Linked DNA regions of Homo sapiens: region 2 is linked to region 1. The links are contacts of gene promoters, found by promoter capture Hi-C in blood cells and fetal thymus (Javierre and others, 2016). All regions are on one chromosome and are shown on one strand. Each heading gives the region's core, a stretch centred on a gene start or on the middle of the fragment in contact. The rest is flanking DNA. Distances are from core to core; before and after follow the strand shown.

Evidence for each region. The method cuts DNA at HindIII sites, captures the fragments that hold promoters and counts their contacts. A CHiCAGO score of 5 or more calls a contact.
Region 2: a contact is called between a fragment that was not itself captured here and the fragment with the promoter of GPX2 in region 1, in 1 of 17 cell types (erythroblasts). The highest score is 6.2, in erythroblasts.

Annotation. Positions count from the first base shown.
Region 1 is chr14:64,939,861-64,946,388 of GRCh38, reverse strand. It overlaps GPX2 (glutathione peroxidase 2), which reads left to right and starts at 3,644. Exons shown (of 2, transcript NM_002083.4): 1 at 3,644-3,884. The coding sequence starts at 3,663. The region is part of intron 3 of CHURC1-FNTB (CHURC1-FNTB readthrough); the gene reads right to left. It overlaps RAB15 (RAB15, member RAS oncogene family), which reads left to right. Exons shown (of 7, transcript NM_001308154.2): 7 at 1-573. The HindIII fragment of the contact is 4,140 bases long and covers 1,749-5,888 here.
Region 2 is chr14:64,667,070-64,673,597 of GRCh38, reverse strand. No RefSeq gene overlaps it. Among named protein-coding and RNA genes, the nearest start is that of PLEKHG3, 34 kb to the left of the region's middle. The HindIII fragment of the contact is 178 bases long and covers 2,715-2,892 here.

The DNA of each region.
Region 1 (6,528 bases), core at 2,395-4,894:
AGTAGGTGATGCCAGCCCTCAAGTCTGTCTTCAGCCAGGGACTTGAGAAGTTATATTGGGCAGTGGCTCCAATCTGTGGACCAGTATTTCAGCTTTCCCTGAAGATCAGGCAGGGTGCCATTCATTGTCTTTCTCTCCTAGCCCCCTCAGGAAAGAAGGACTATATTTGTACTGTACCCTAGGGGTTCTGGAAGGGAAAACATGGAATCAGGATTCTATAGACTGATAGGCCCTATCCACAAGGGCCATGACTGGGAAAAGGTATGGGAGCAGAAGGAGAATTGGGATTTTAGGGTGCAGCTACGCTCACCCTAAACTTTTGGTGGCCTGGGGCATGTCTTGAGGCCCAGACTGTTAACCAGGCTCTGCTGGCCTGTTTACTCGTCACCACCTCTGCACCTGCTGTCTTGAGACTCCATCCAGCCCCAGGCACGCCACCTGCTCCTGAGCCTCCACTATCTCCCTGTGACGGGTGAACTTCGTGTACTGTGTCTCGGGTCCATATATGAATTGTGAGCAGGGTTCATCTATTTTAAACACAGATGTTTACAAAATAAAGATTATTTCAAACCACCGGTGTGGCTGCCTGGATGAGTCCTTGGGGGTAGGTCTCACTCAGACCCTGGCAGTGATGTGGGAGGGAGAGAGGCAGTGCTGGTAGAAGCAGCTCCAGAAGCAAAGGCAACAGCAGTAGAGTGACCACGGAAGCGGCAAACATTGTCTTCCCTTCTCTACCTTCCCTAGTGCCACCTGCAGGGAGGCCCAAAGCAAAGCCCCGTTGCCCTGCATTGGGCTGGCACTGCAGAAATAAGATGAAACACAGTTATCGAGAGGATGCTGAACATCTATGAGCAGGTTTTAAAGCCAAGATGAGTCTCATCTGTTTGTGTGGGTCAGGAACGGGTCTTCCTGAAGGCATGAGGTGGGACTGGATAATCTTTCAGATTTGTGATTGGATACCTCGGGGGAGCAGAGGCAGACTGGGATCTCAGGACTGCAGGTATTTCATACTTTGGGATATGGAATTGATGGAGGTGGAGAATATTGGGGATAAGGACTGAATGAAGAAAGGAGTAGGACAACGCAGGACAACAGTAGTCTTAAGATTTTCACTACACTTTACCCGGCACTAGTGATAGATAAACTCTTCTGACCCTAACCATCACCGTGTGAGATGGGGAGGGTGGTTATCTACCCAGGTCCCACAGGCAAGGAAACAGATGATCAGAGAACTTAAAGATTTGGCCGGGTGCAGTGGCTCATGCCTGTAATCCCAACTCTGGGAGGCCGAGGCAGGAGGACTGCTTGAGCCCAAGAGTTTGGGACCAGCCTGGGCAACATAGTGAGACACTGTCTCTAGAAAAAATTAGCTGAGTGTGGTGGCTTGTGAGGCTGAGGCCAGTGGATCACTTGAGCCCAGAAGGTCAAGGCTGCAGTTGCACCATTGCACTCCTGCCTGGGTGACAGAGAAAGACCCTGTCTCAATAAAAAGAGCTTAAAGATTTGCCTAAGGGTCCGAAGTAACAGTGGCAGAATTGTGGTTGTAAACCACTGAATTGGAATCACTGGAGGGCAAAGCTTTGGCATCTCTAGAAAAATTCCTACAAACAATTCTCATTTGCAGTCAGAATTAAGAACCACCAACCCAGGCTTTCTGCCTAAGCCAGTGCTGTGTCCAGAGCAAGCACTGTCCCACAGAAAGCCATAAGAATCATACGCTGCTTAGTGTATGCTTAAAGTTGTAAGCTTTTGGAAAGCGAGGCCAGTTTGAGGTAAATTTGGAGACAGAGATATTTTAGGAGAGCCTCACCAAGTATATTCCATTAGGAAAGGTGAGAACCCTGGGAGTCTGAAGGGTCCAAGGTCACACCAGGAGAAAAGGGATGGCATGTACCTAAGGAAGAGGGAACCCCCACACTCCTCATCTTGGGAACTCCCATGGCCTTCTTGAAGAAGGCTTGCAAAAGAGCAGAGAATAAGAGGTGTCTCTGGAGGCCCAGAGAGTACTAGGGGGAAGCTCTAGGTATGCACATAAATCCGGCAAGTTACAGTTCTGCCCACTATCAGTGCCAAGTCCTTGTGACTCAGTGGCTTGGTGGGGACTCTTTCTTATTGGTTGCTTCTAGGAACTCCACCCAGCTTCAGCAGGGGACACACTTCCCTCTACACTTCCTGTCACTCCTTCTGTCCACTTAGGTAATGGAAACTTGTTTTTAGGGAGCAGCCAGCTGAGACACATGGTCCCTGTATACTTGAACAGCCATGGAAAAGCTGCAAGGCAGCTTGGCGCTCCCTGGTGATAATTACTTCATCTCATCTCAACAAATCAGATTCTCAAGACCAGCTGCTCCCCGGACTTGCTTATTCTTTGTTCCAAGGAGACAGTTCCCAATGGATGTGCCCCTGTGAAAACACCCTAGTAAACATTTGCTTTGTTATTGAAATTTCACTCTAAAATCCCAAAGCTAGGTCAAGCCCCATTGCTAGTTTTACTGATGAAGAAATCAAGGCATTTTTAAAAGAGTAACTTGTTGAGTTGGCGGGTGCTTGGGTCTTTTCGGTTTCTGTGGCTTCCAGGGGTGGGCCTCTGAGATGGCCCTTAGCAGATGTCCTGCGATGCACTGCACGCCTCTTGTTGAAAGCATCAGGGGTGACCTGCCTGCGTCTGGAACCACAGCAGCTTCAACTTCCTCCACACACTTCCTTCTGTGGGAAGGTGACCAGCACAAACCCGCTCTGAAAAGTCTTGGGGACCAAATCTCTGTCTGAGAGGAAGGTAGGTGCAGTTCATCCACTAAGTTTATCCACCTGTTCTGTGACTCCTCTTCACCATTCTCCCAGCAACGACTGAGCCTCATGACTTGGGGGCTGGGGGATGAGGTGGAGGTGGGGGATATAATATAGGAGATGGTACAGTGCAGGGGCAGAGGCTGGTGTGTTCTCCAGGACAAGTGGCACCACGCACTGAAAGACTTTTCAAGATAAACACAACTTTGTCTCTTCAGCCTGGCAAGAGCTGAGGCACTGAAAACTTCTTTTTTCCCCTAGAAAATGACACACTCTCCTCCTAAGGGTCCCTTTGATTTTGTCCTGGTGGAAAGCAACAAAGAGAAGAACGTGAACAGGAATATGTATATTTCAGTTGTCATCTGAGTCCCATGGATAGGAGGCTCAATTCTCTTCTTCATCTTTCAGATCTCCGCAGACCCTGCCCTCTCACTGTACAATTCAGAGATTGACACTCAGCAGGCATTCAATAAACGTCTGTGTCAAATGAGAACAACTTGATGGGGCAAGTAGGAGTCAATCCTGCATCCCTCCCTCCCTTTTTTTCCTCTCCATTCGACCTTTAGGGCTCTGGTTTCCTGTAAGCAGTGAATTATTTACCTCTGCTCATAGATATCAAATTGGCCCTTCCCAGGTTGCAGCAGGGTGGGGCGGGGAGGCGGCCTTGTTCAGTCTGTTAATAGGAGGAGCAACCTCCTTGTTCAAACAGCACTTACAGGTGGGGACCTGTTTTTGCTAAGTCATCCTGGGGATGCTCAAAGCTCCATTGTTAGATCCTTTCTGTCCTCCTTCCTGGCTCCTCCTTCCTCCCCACCCCTCTAATAGGCTCATAAGTGGGCTCAGGCCTCTCTGCGGGGCTCACTCTGCGCTTCACCATGGCTTTCATTGCCAAGTCCTTCTATGACCTCAGTGCCATCAGCCTGGATGGGGAGAAGGTAGATTTCAATACGTTCCGGGGCAGGGCCGTGCTGATTGAGAATGTGGCTTCGCTCTGAGGCACAACCACCCGGGACTTCACCCAGCTCAACGAGCTGCAATGCCGCTTTCCCAGGCGCCTGGTGGTCCTTGGCTTCCCTTGCAACCAATTTGGACATCAGGTGAGGGGTCCCTCCTTGTAATGCACCAAAAGTGTTGGGTTGGTGTAGCTCAGGTGGGATAAAAGGAGAGGCTGAATGACCATGTTTTGGAGTGTCTGGAATAATGGGGTATGTTTTGTTAAGCTAGGTCTTTAGGTGCATGTGACATACCAAGAGAAGGTATATATTTTTTAAGATTAAACACTGAGGCTGTGTGATTTTTATAGTTTACTGTCTTTCTACTATATTACTCCATGAGGGCTGGTTCCAGGTCTGTGTTTCTCTCCACTGTGTCCTCAGTGCCTAGGGCACAGAAAGCACTCATTAAATATTTGTTGAATAAATGAGTGGAGAAAGTAGAGGCCAGGAATCAAACAAGAATTGGACAGACTCAAGAGACCTTAGCTCTAGCTGGACTTGGTTTTGCTATTTAATGGCTCTGTGCCCTCGGAAAGGGCGCTTCATTTTTCGGTTTAGTTTCCTCATCTGTAAATTGGGGATAATACCACTTAGCTCATAGGATTATTATGATGTTTAGGGGACAGGATATACAAAAGTAACTTGAAAAATATAAAGTACTATGCAAATGCAAGCAAACTGTTATTTAGATTGAGGATGATTTTTGTTGGTTTAAATTAGCCAAGTGGAAAGAAAATAAGCAGGAAAGAGAAAGGTTTTCAAAAGGCACGTGCCTCTGGGCATTACATGCACCTATTTCTGATTAATGGGTCAAGCTGTTATAGATCTTCAGCCCACACACCTCGAGTTCTCTTTTAGGGATTCTTCTATTTCCACCTATGATTTTAACGTACAAGCAGGGAGAATGAACCCAAGCGAACCCTCTCGTTATAATCCCCTTAGTTCAATTCACAGTGGTATGAAGGTGAGGAAGACAGGAAAGCAGGAAGGCTGAAGCATCACTGGCTGTGACAAACCTGAGCCCAAACTGTTCACTGCTCTCACTGTTCTTCCCTAAGTTTTCTGTCTGGCCTTTTCTAGAGCAGGAGAGACAGAAGTAGCAAACCCTCTTTCGAGATGTCCCTCCAGCCCCAGAAGTACCTCCAGCCTCACACCATCTCTTCAGCCTAGCAAGTTGCTGGAGGGAGTCTATAACCTACCAGGAGCCAGCCAGCCATTTGTATCAAGAAATAGAAATCTGCCAGGGTACAGTGGCTCACACCTATAATCCCAGCGCTTTGGGAGGCTAAGGTAGGCAGATTGCTTGAGCTCAGGAGTTCAAGATTAGCCTGAGCAACATGGTGAAACCTTGTTTCTACAAAAAATTGCAAAAATTAGCCAGGCATGGTGGCATGTGCCTGTAGTCACAGCTACTTGGGACGCTGAAGTAGCAGGATCGCCTGAGCCTGGGAAGTCGAGGCTGCAGTGAGCTATGATTGTGCCACCGCACCCCAGCCTAGGTGACAGAGTGAGGCCCTGTCTCAGGAAAAAAAACAGAAACAAAAACAGAGAAGTCCACTAGAGATCAGCTCTGGGCTCATGATGTCATGATGGCCTGGAACTGACTGAACTAGTTAGTTCTCACAGGTCAGAAGCAGGAACTTTCTCCCAGAGGAAGGTATCTGTCTGTTAAATTGGAAAGGTAGAGGTGGAAAAGAAGGGTTCCCATAGGCCTTTTGGATTGTCATGAATGGTGATGCTGAGAGGGAATAGGACAGGGATGGCAGTGGGGAGGGAAAGGCAGGGACCAGGTTTTGAGCCAAAGCATGCGTAGCTGAGAGCAGTGAGTGGATAGGAGGTGCAGCAGTCTTTGGGTAGCAGCCTACTCAAGAAAAGAATGATAATTACATACTCACAATCTTTAGCCATCAAGCACTTATTTCCTCAACTCCCCCTCCCCCTGGCCTATTGCCAAACCCTAAATCCTGTATCCTATTTACTTCATGCCTGTTGGTTACTAAGTAGTTCCATTTAGAGTACACATTCATTGTTGCCTTGAACTTGCTCTGCTGTTATGGCACCTGAAAACTAGATGTTCTTGGATGGGGGTCTTCCTTCATCAAAGCTTCTTCCCATTTGTACTTCAGTTCTAGGACAAGGCAAGAAGAAAGCAAGAAGCTGTAAATCCCATTCCTCTGGGTCTCAATTTCACCCTCAGTTCAAGGAGCTGAGTAGGCAGAGGCAAAGGCTATACTCAACACACGTGCAATTGAAAGCAGGCGAGGCAAAACCAGGGCAGAGGAAAGGAAAGGGGTGTGTGTGTAGGTATGGATTTATGGGTAGGTGGGTCGGTAGGTTAGTTGAAGAGGAGGTTCTAAGCAGTATAACCTAAGCCTCTTTTCTCTTTCTTCTGCTTCAAACACCTTAAGAACTGCTCAGGGTAGACTGGAGACAAAAGCAACAGCTCAGAAGTGCTAAATCTTGAAGAGCAGCCAAAGCATGGGCAACAAAGTGAGACCCCATCTCTACAAAAAAAAAAAAAAATTAGCCGGGCATGGTGGCCTGTGTCTGTAGTCTCAGCTACTAAAGAGGCTGAAGCAGGAGGAATGCTTGAGCCCAGAAGTTCAAGGCTGCAGTGAGCAACACCTCGTCTGTCTTGTCTCTCTCTCTTTCACAGTGAAAAAGAATGACCCTGGGGAGGGAGTGTAGGAGGGTGAAAGAGTTTCATGTTGTGGATCTTTCTCTTCCCCCACCCACTGTCCACGCA
Region 2 (6,528 bases), core at 1,554-4,053, 270 kb after region 1:
GAAGGCAGTGTCTGTGGTTATCCACCTCCATTCAGAGCCAAGTGAGTTCAGACTGCTGGGTTCTCGTCCTAAACTCTTTCACCGACTACCCCTGAGGCCTTGAGCAAGTGACCTAACCTCCTCCTCGTGCTTCTGTTTCCCCATCTTTACAATGACAGTCGTCATGGGGACAAATTCACTGGGTTGTAGTACAGATGGAATGAGAGCAAGCCGTCGCGCAGAAGACGTGCTCAACAAATGGAAACCACTGCTATCATTTTCATTCTTATTATCTCAATTTAGGAAACAAGGATCCCGACATTGCAAGCTATTCCAGGTGAAGCTAAAAAGAAGATAATCCCCAAGTCTCTGGGTAAAGAAACTCACTGCCACCCTCAATCAAATCAAAGCCAGATTCCGTGATGTTGGTAGTGAAGGGGAAGTCCCCCCAGGGGTGGGGTGGAGTGAGGTGTGGCTTTCCTTACCCATTGGTGGTACCAGTGAGACGAGGGAGAAATCTCCCAGGAAAGGTGAGCCTTGGAGGGCAAAACACAGCCAAGAGATCTAACCGCTTTTCCCATGTGGAGAGTCTCCTGCCAGCCAGAGCCAATCTCAGGAAATATGAGTTCGATTTTATTAAGGAAACCAACACGTTTCCTTCTGTCTAATGTAGCCTCTGTGTTATTCACATTGTTGGCTCCCAGGATGTGAAATGTCATCCTAGTACAGAACCCAGAAAAGAGTGGGCTGAATGTCTCTTTAGAGAGCTTTAGCCAACTATTTAAAAAAGTGGAGTCTACCTTCCTAACAGAGTTAATAATCACATGCCTTTATAGGAAGCAGTAGTAATAGTTGTGGTAATAATAACAGCTGACTTTTTCTCTTAGCAGTTGCAGTATAAGGTTCATAACCATCCTGTTAAGATGGTATTATTTATAGTCATCACTCAGTATCTTGCTGGGATTGGCTCCAGCACCCCCTTGGATACCAAAATCCACGGATACTCAAGTTTCTGATATAAAATGGTATAGTATTTGCATATAACCTAGGCACATCCTTCCATATACTTTTTTGTTTCTTTGTTTGTTTGTAACAGAGTCTTACTCCTTCGCCCAGGCTGGAGTGCAGTGTCATGATCATAGCTCACTGCAGCCTCAAACTCCTGTGCTAAAGCAATCCTCCTGCCTCAGCCTCCTGAGTAGCTGAGACTACAGGTGCACCACAGCACCAGGCTGATTTTTTTTTTAAGTTCTTATAGAGACAGGGTCTTACTAATGTTTACGAGGCTGATCTCAAACTCCTGGGGCCTTAGGCGATCCTCCTGCCTTGGCCTCCCAAAGTACCGTTATTACAGATATGAGACACTGTGCCTGGCCAACTTTCCTATACTTTAAATCATCTCTAGATAACTTATCATGTCAAATATTAATACAATGTAAATTCCATGCAAATGGTTGTTATACTATATTGTTTTTATCTGTATTATTTTTGTTGTATTGTTGTTTTTATTGTTGGGTTTTTTTCAATATTTTCTATCTGTGGTTGGTTGAATCCACAGATGTGGAAACTGTGGATATGGAAAGCTGACTGTATTAGAATTTTATAGAACAAGAAACTAAGGCTTCATTAATTTAAATAGCCTGCTAGGATCATAAAGATGGGAGGCATTCTCCAACCCTTGTTTGATTCTGGATTTGAACTTGGGTCAGCTTGAATTCAACGCCAGAGTGCCTAACAGTATTTTGTCTCTTAGAGGAGTCTAGATTGCAACTGCATTTCAACCTAGTAAGAAAAGCATGTATAAGATCTGCTTTCTTTCTGATCTCCTCTGGGTATTTGTTTTCTTATGAAAGTCTGAGAAAGTCGCAAAGTTCAGCCCCAAAGAATGAACAAGTGGTTCATTTCTGCCCCCTAGAGGAGGTAAGGAAGGTCATGGTTAAAATGAGTGTTCAGAATCGCAATAGATCCAGCCCTGCAATAGAGCCAAACCTAAAAACAAACTACTTTCAGTTCATGAAAGGGAGGTGATAATGGGTTAGGGATTATCTGGATCAAGAGTGAGAACAGTGTATCAGGGTCCTGCCTGGATATATACTGGATATATATATATATATAGTGTGTGTGGAGATATATATATATATATAGTGTGTGTGTGTGTGTGTGTGTGTGTGTGTGTGTGTATATATATACAGCTTGCATATATATATATACAGCTTGCATATATATATATACAGCTTGCATATATATATACAGCTTGCATATATATATACAGCTTGCATATATATATATATACAGCTTGCATATATATATATATACAGCTTGCATATATATATATATATATACAGCTTGCATATATATATATATACAGCTTGCATATATATATATATATATATACAGCTTGCATATATATATATATATATACAGCTTGCAAATATATATATATATATTTACAAGTATATATATATATATATATATATATATATATATATATATATATACACTGTTCTATCAGGGTCCTGAATAGACTCATTCTAGTCTAGTATTCAGACTAGAACTTTCATCTTTAACATGTGCCCCAAATGATTCTTTCACTAAGGCAACTTTGAGAAACAGGTGCATATAATTTATTCATCCAGCAAGGGCTTGAATAACACCTTCCATCCACAAGCCACTGTTACTAAGGCATTTGCTGGACCCCAAGGGAGTGGAGTCCACATCCCTGTCCTGAAGAAGCTTGGTCAATTACACTATCTCTCAGGGCCTTGCCTTTGTTATTGAGAAAATGGCTCATCTCTAAATGGTGTGAGAGCCAGGAGACCCATGTTGGACGTGCAGACAGGGTGCACTTTACTTAATCTCCTTGGACCTCAGTTTCCTTGTCTACAACATCAGAGGGTGAATACTCATCAAGCTTCCTCCTGTGGCAAGATTCTGAAGTTCCCAGGCCCTGTGGAGAGCGTACAGGGAAACCTTACTTAGGTGACCTGCTTAGGAGTCTGGTCTCCATGACTGTGCAGATCCACCTCCTGCCAAATGGCTCATGACAATCCCAGGAGCAGGCTGTGGTCTCCCTGATCCTGAGGTTCAGAGCTTTTGGTGTTCCCGTCACTGGCATTCACGCCACACTGTAGGAGCCTTCTTTTCATTGATGTAAACTCTGTTCACAAAAAGGGTCTGGGGAAAATAAAGTTGATTTGGAAAAAGAAATTTCTCTAGAAACCCAAATAAGGCTTCTTATTTCTAGAAACCCCCAAATAAGACTTCCTGAAATGTGGAGTCAGATGAACCAGCCTTTAAATCCTAGCTCTGTTACTCAATAGCTGTGTGATTTGAGGCAAGTCATCCATTTTAAACTTGGTCTCTTCATCTGTGGAATGGACATAAAAAGAGTACCCAAAGCTGGGTGTGGTGGCATGCACCTGTGTTCTCAGTGACTTGGCAAGAGGCTGAGGGAGGAAGGTGACTTGAGCCCAGGAATTTGAGGCCGTAGTGCACTACAATCATGCCTATGAATTGCCACTGCATTCCGGCTTGGGCAACATAGTGAGACCTCATCTCTAAAAATATATAGGTATAATAGAATAGTTTGTATCTCACTGAGTCATGGTGAAGATTAAATGAGACTAGACTAATACCTGGTGCATAATAGGTATGCTGAAATATTTCCTTTTTTTTTTTTTTTTTTTTTTGAGACGGAGTCTCGCCCTGTCACCCAGGCTAGAGTGTCGTGGCGCGATCTCGGCTCACTGCAAGCTCCACCTCCTGGGTTCACGCCATTCTCCTGCCTCAGCCTCCCGAGTAGCTGGGATTACAGGCGCCTACCACCACGCTCGGCTAATTTTTTTGTATTTTTTAGTAGATACGGGGTTTCACCATGTTAGCCAGGATGGTCTCGATCTCCTGACCTCGTGATCCGCCTGCCTCGGCCTCCCAAAGTGCTGGGATTACGGGCATGAGCCACTGCGCCCAGCCTATTTCCTATTGTTATTACGATTAATACTGCTGATGCTAGTTTTACCTTCAGAGACTGTTACAATTGGAAAATAAAGAAACAGTTCATAGTCAGGACCCCACCCAAGGATTTAGCACCCAAATCACTCCAGAGAACTCCAGCTCGACCTTGGCAGTCATCCAGGATGCCACATGTCCTCTCACTCTTGTTTAAAGATGTCCTAATAGAGCCAAACTTCTTTTGCCAAATTTCTCAAAATGAGTCCTTTAGTGGATCCTTGGGCTTATAGTACCACTACCACATCATCCAAGGGGCATGGCCATCTGGGTTTGAGGTTACAGAAAAAGAGAGGGGCCTAGGACCAGGGCCAAGGCAAGCTCATAGACACTCCTTGCAGGAGCAAGGTCAACAAGCAAGACCCATGAGGACTGAAATAAGGATCTACTTGACACTCAGATTGACTGCATTTGGAGAGCCAATAATTGCTGCCTTTGCCCTTATAATAAACTACAGCTTTTGAAGAAAATTTAAAAACAAAATAAAATCCACAAAAACATGCAGGCATTGCTGGGCAGCAGCAAACAAACATACTGGATTGTTCAGAAAGACTGCTAAGATCTTAAGAGCAAATTGTTTATAAACTGCAGAGAAAAGTTGTAATAAGAACTGGCTTCAGCACTAAAACACAGCTTTTGATTCTCCACCATCTCACTCCAACCCAAGAGAATAGCAGCAGCTGTTAGGTGTAAGGGAGCCTGTGGGCCTATTTAGGGGTGAGGGTAAGGTATAGAGGGGCACAGGCTCTCATCTCACAATTAACAAAGGGCCCCACATTCTGGCTTTTGACATTAGCTCCAGATGACAGGTCTGAAAGAAGCAATGTTCAGGATAGAACTCTCAACTTGTGTTCCTCACTGCCTGTAGAGCACTGTAAAATATTTAAAATGTACCCTGGAATTATCATGCAAAAACACATTACCTTTACTATTTTTTTCTGTGATAGAAGTATTAATTTGTCAAATGTAAACATTTAAAATACACCACAGTAGCATGCACCTGTGGTTCCAGCTACTTGGGAGGCTGAGGTGGGAGGATTGCTTGAGCCCAGGAGGTTGAGGCTTCAGTGAACCATGATCGCGCTACTGCACTCCAGCCTGGGTGACAGAGTGAGATTCTGTCTCAAAACAAACAAACAAACAAACACACAAACAAAAAACACCACCGCTCTCACCATCTTTTGGTGGGGGGTGTTGGCATTTCTTCATATTTTAATATACTAGGAACCTCAAAAAAATGGAAGTAACTGTGGGTCACTCTTGTCTTCTGAGAGGCCCTGGCACAGACCTGGGGATGGGAGTGAAGAATCAGGGCAGCCCTGGATGTAACTGTCTCTCCTGCAGAAGTGGTTGCTCCCTAGTCCAAACAGGTTTTTATCAGAATCTCTTTACTTCTCCATAAGAGGTAAAGATCAGTCCTCACCTTCTCATTCACCCACGGAAGAGACGCATTGCAAGGACAAACCCTGAAAATGTTGCTGGTCCAACCAAACTGACAGGGCCCCTGAGTATATCCACAAGAGGAGTGCCTGGCACCAGCTCTACACCCATCTTAGCAGGGTATGAACCACAGACAGCACTTTCCTGGGGGGAGGGATTCTTGACTGTTCTACACCATGTCCCAGAGAATACCAACAAGTTTTCTTTTACCTCTTATGTAAACTTCCAAAGCCTATGATAAAATAAATCAAAATTCTAACCCAAGCATTCACCATCTGCCCCATCACCATATAATTAAGATGATGTACTTAGCCTTGAAATACAGAACTTTTCTGTTAGCCTGTCACAAAAGGTTCACAGTTTCCCTCTCTGGCTTGGATATGGTTTGGATATTTGGCTCCTCCAAATCTCATATTGAAATGTGATCCCAGTGATGAAGGTGGGGCCTAGTAGGAGGTGTTTGGGTCATGGGGGCAGATCCCTTATGAATGGCTTGGTGCCCTCCCCATGGTAATGAGTCCTCACTCTATGAGTTTGTAGAAGATGTGATTGTTTAAGACAATGTGGCACCTGCCCCGCACCTTGCTCCCTCTCTCACCATGTGACAGGCCTCCTCCCCCTTTGCCTTCCATCCATGACTGTAAGCTTTTTGAGGCCCTCCCTAGAAGCAGATGCCAGCATCATGCTTCCTGTACAGCCTGCAAAACCGTGAGCCAAAAGAAACCTCTTTTCTTTTTTTTTTTGAGACAGAGTCTCACTCTATTGCCCAGGCTGGAGTGCAGTGGCATGGTTTTGGCTCACTGCAACTTCCGCCTCCCGGGTGCAAGAGATTCTCCTGCCTCAGCCTCCCGAGTAGCTGGGACTACAGGCATCCACCACCATGCCTGGCTAATTTTTGTATTTTTTAGTAGAAACCGGTTTCACCATATTGCCCGGGCTGGTCTCGAACTCCTGACCTTGTGATCTGCCTGCCTCAGCCTCCCAAAGTGCTGGGATTACAGGTGTGAGCCACCATACCCAGCTACCTCTTTTCTTTACAAATAACACAGTCCCAGGTATTCCTTTATGCCAACACAAAGGAACTAACACAGACTTCCTCTC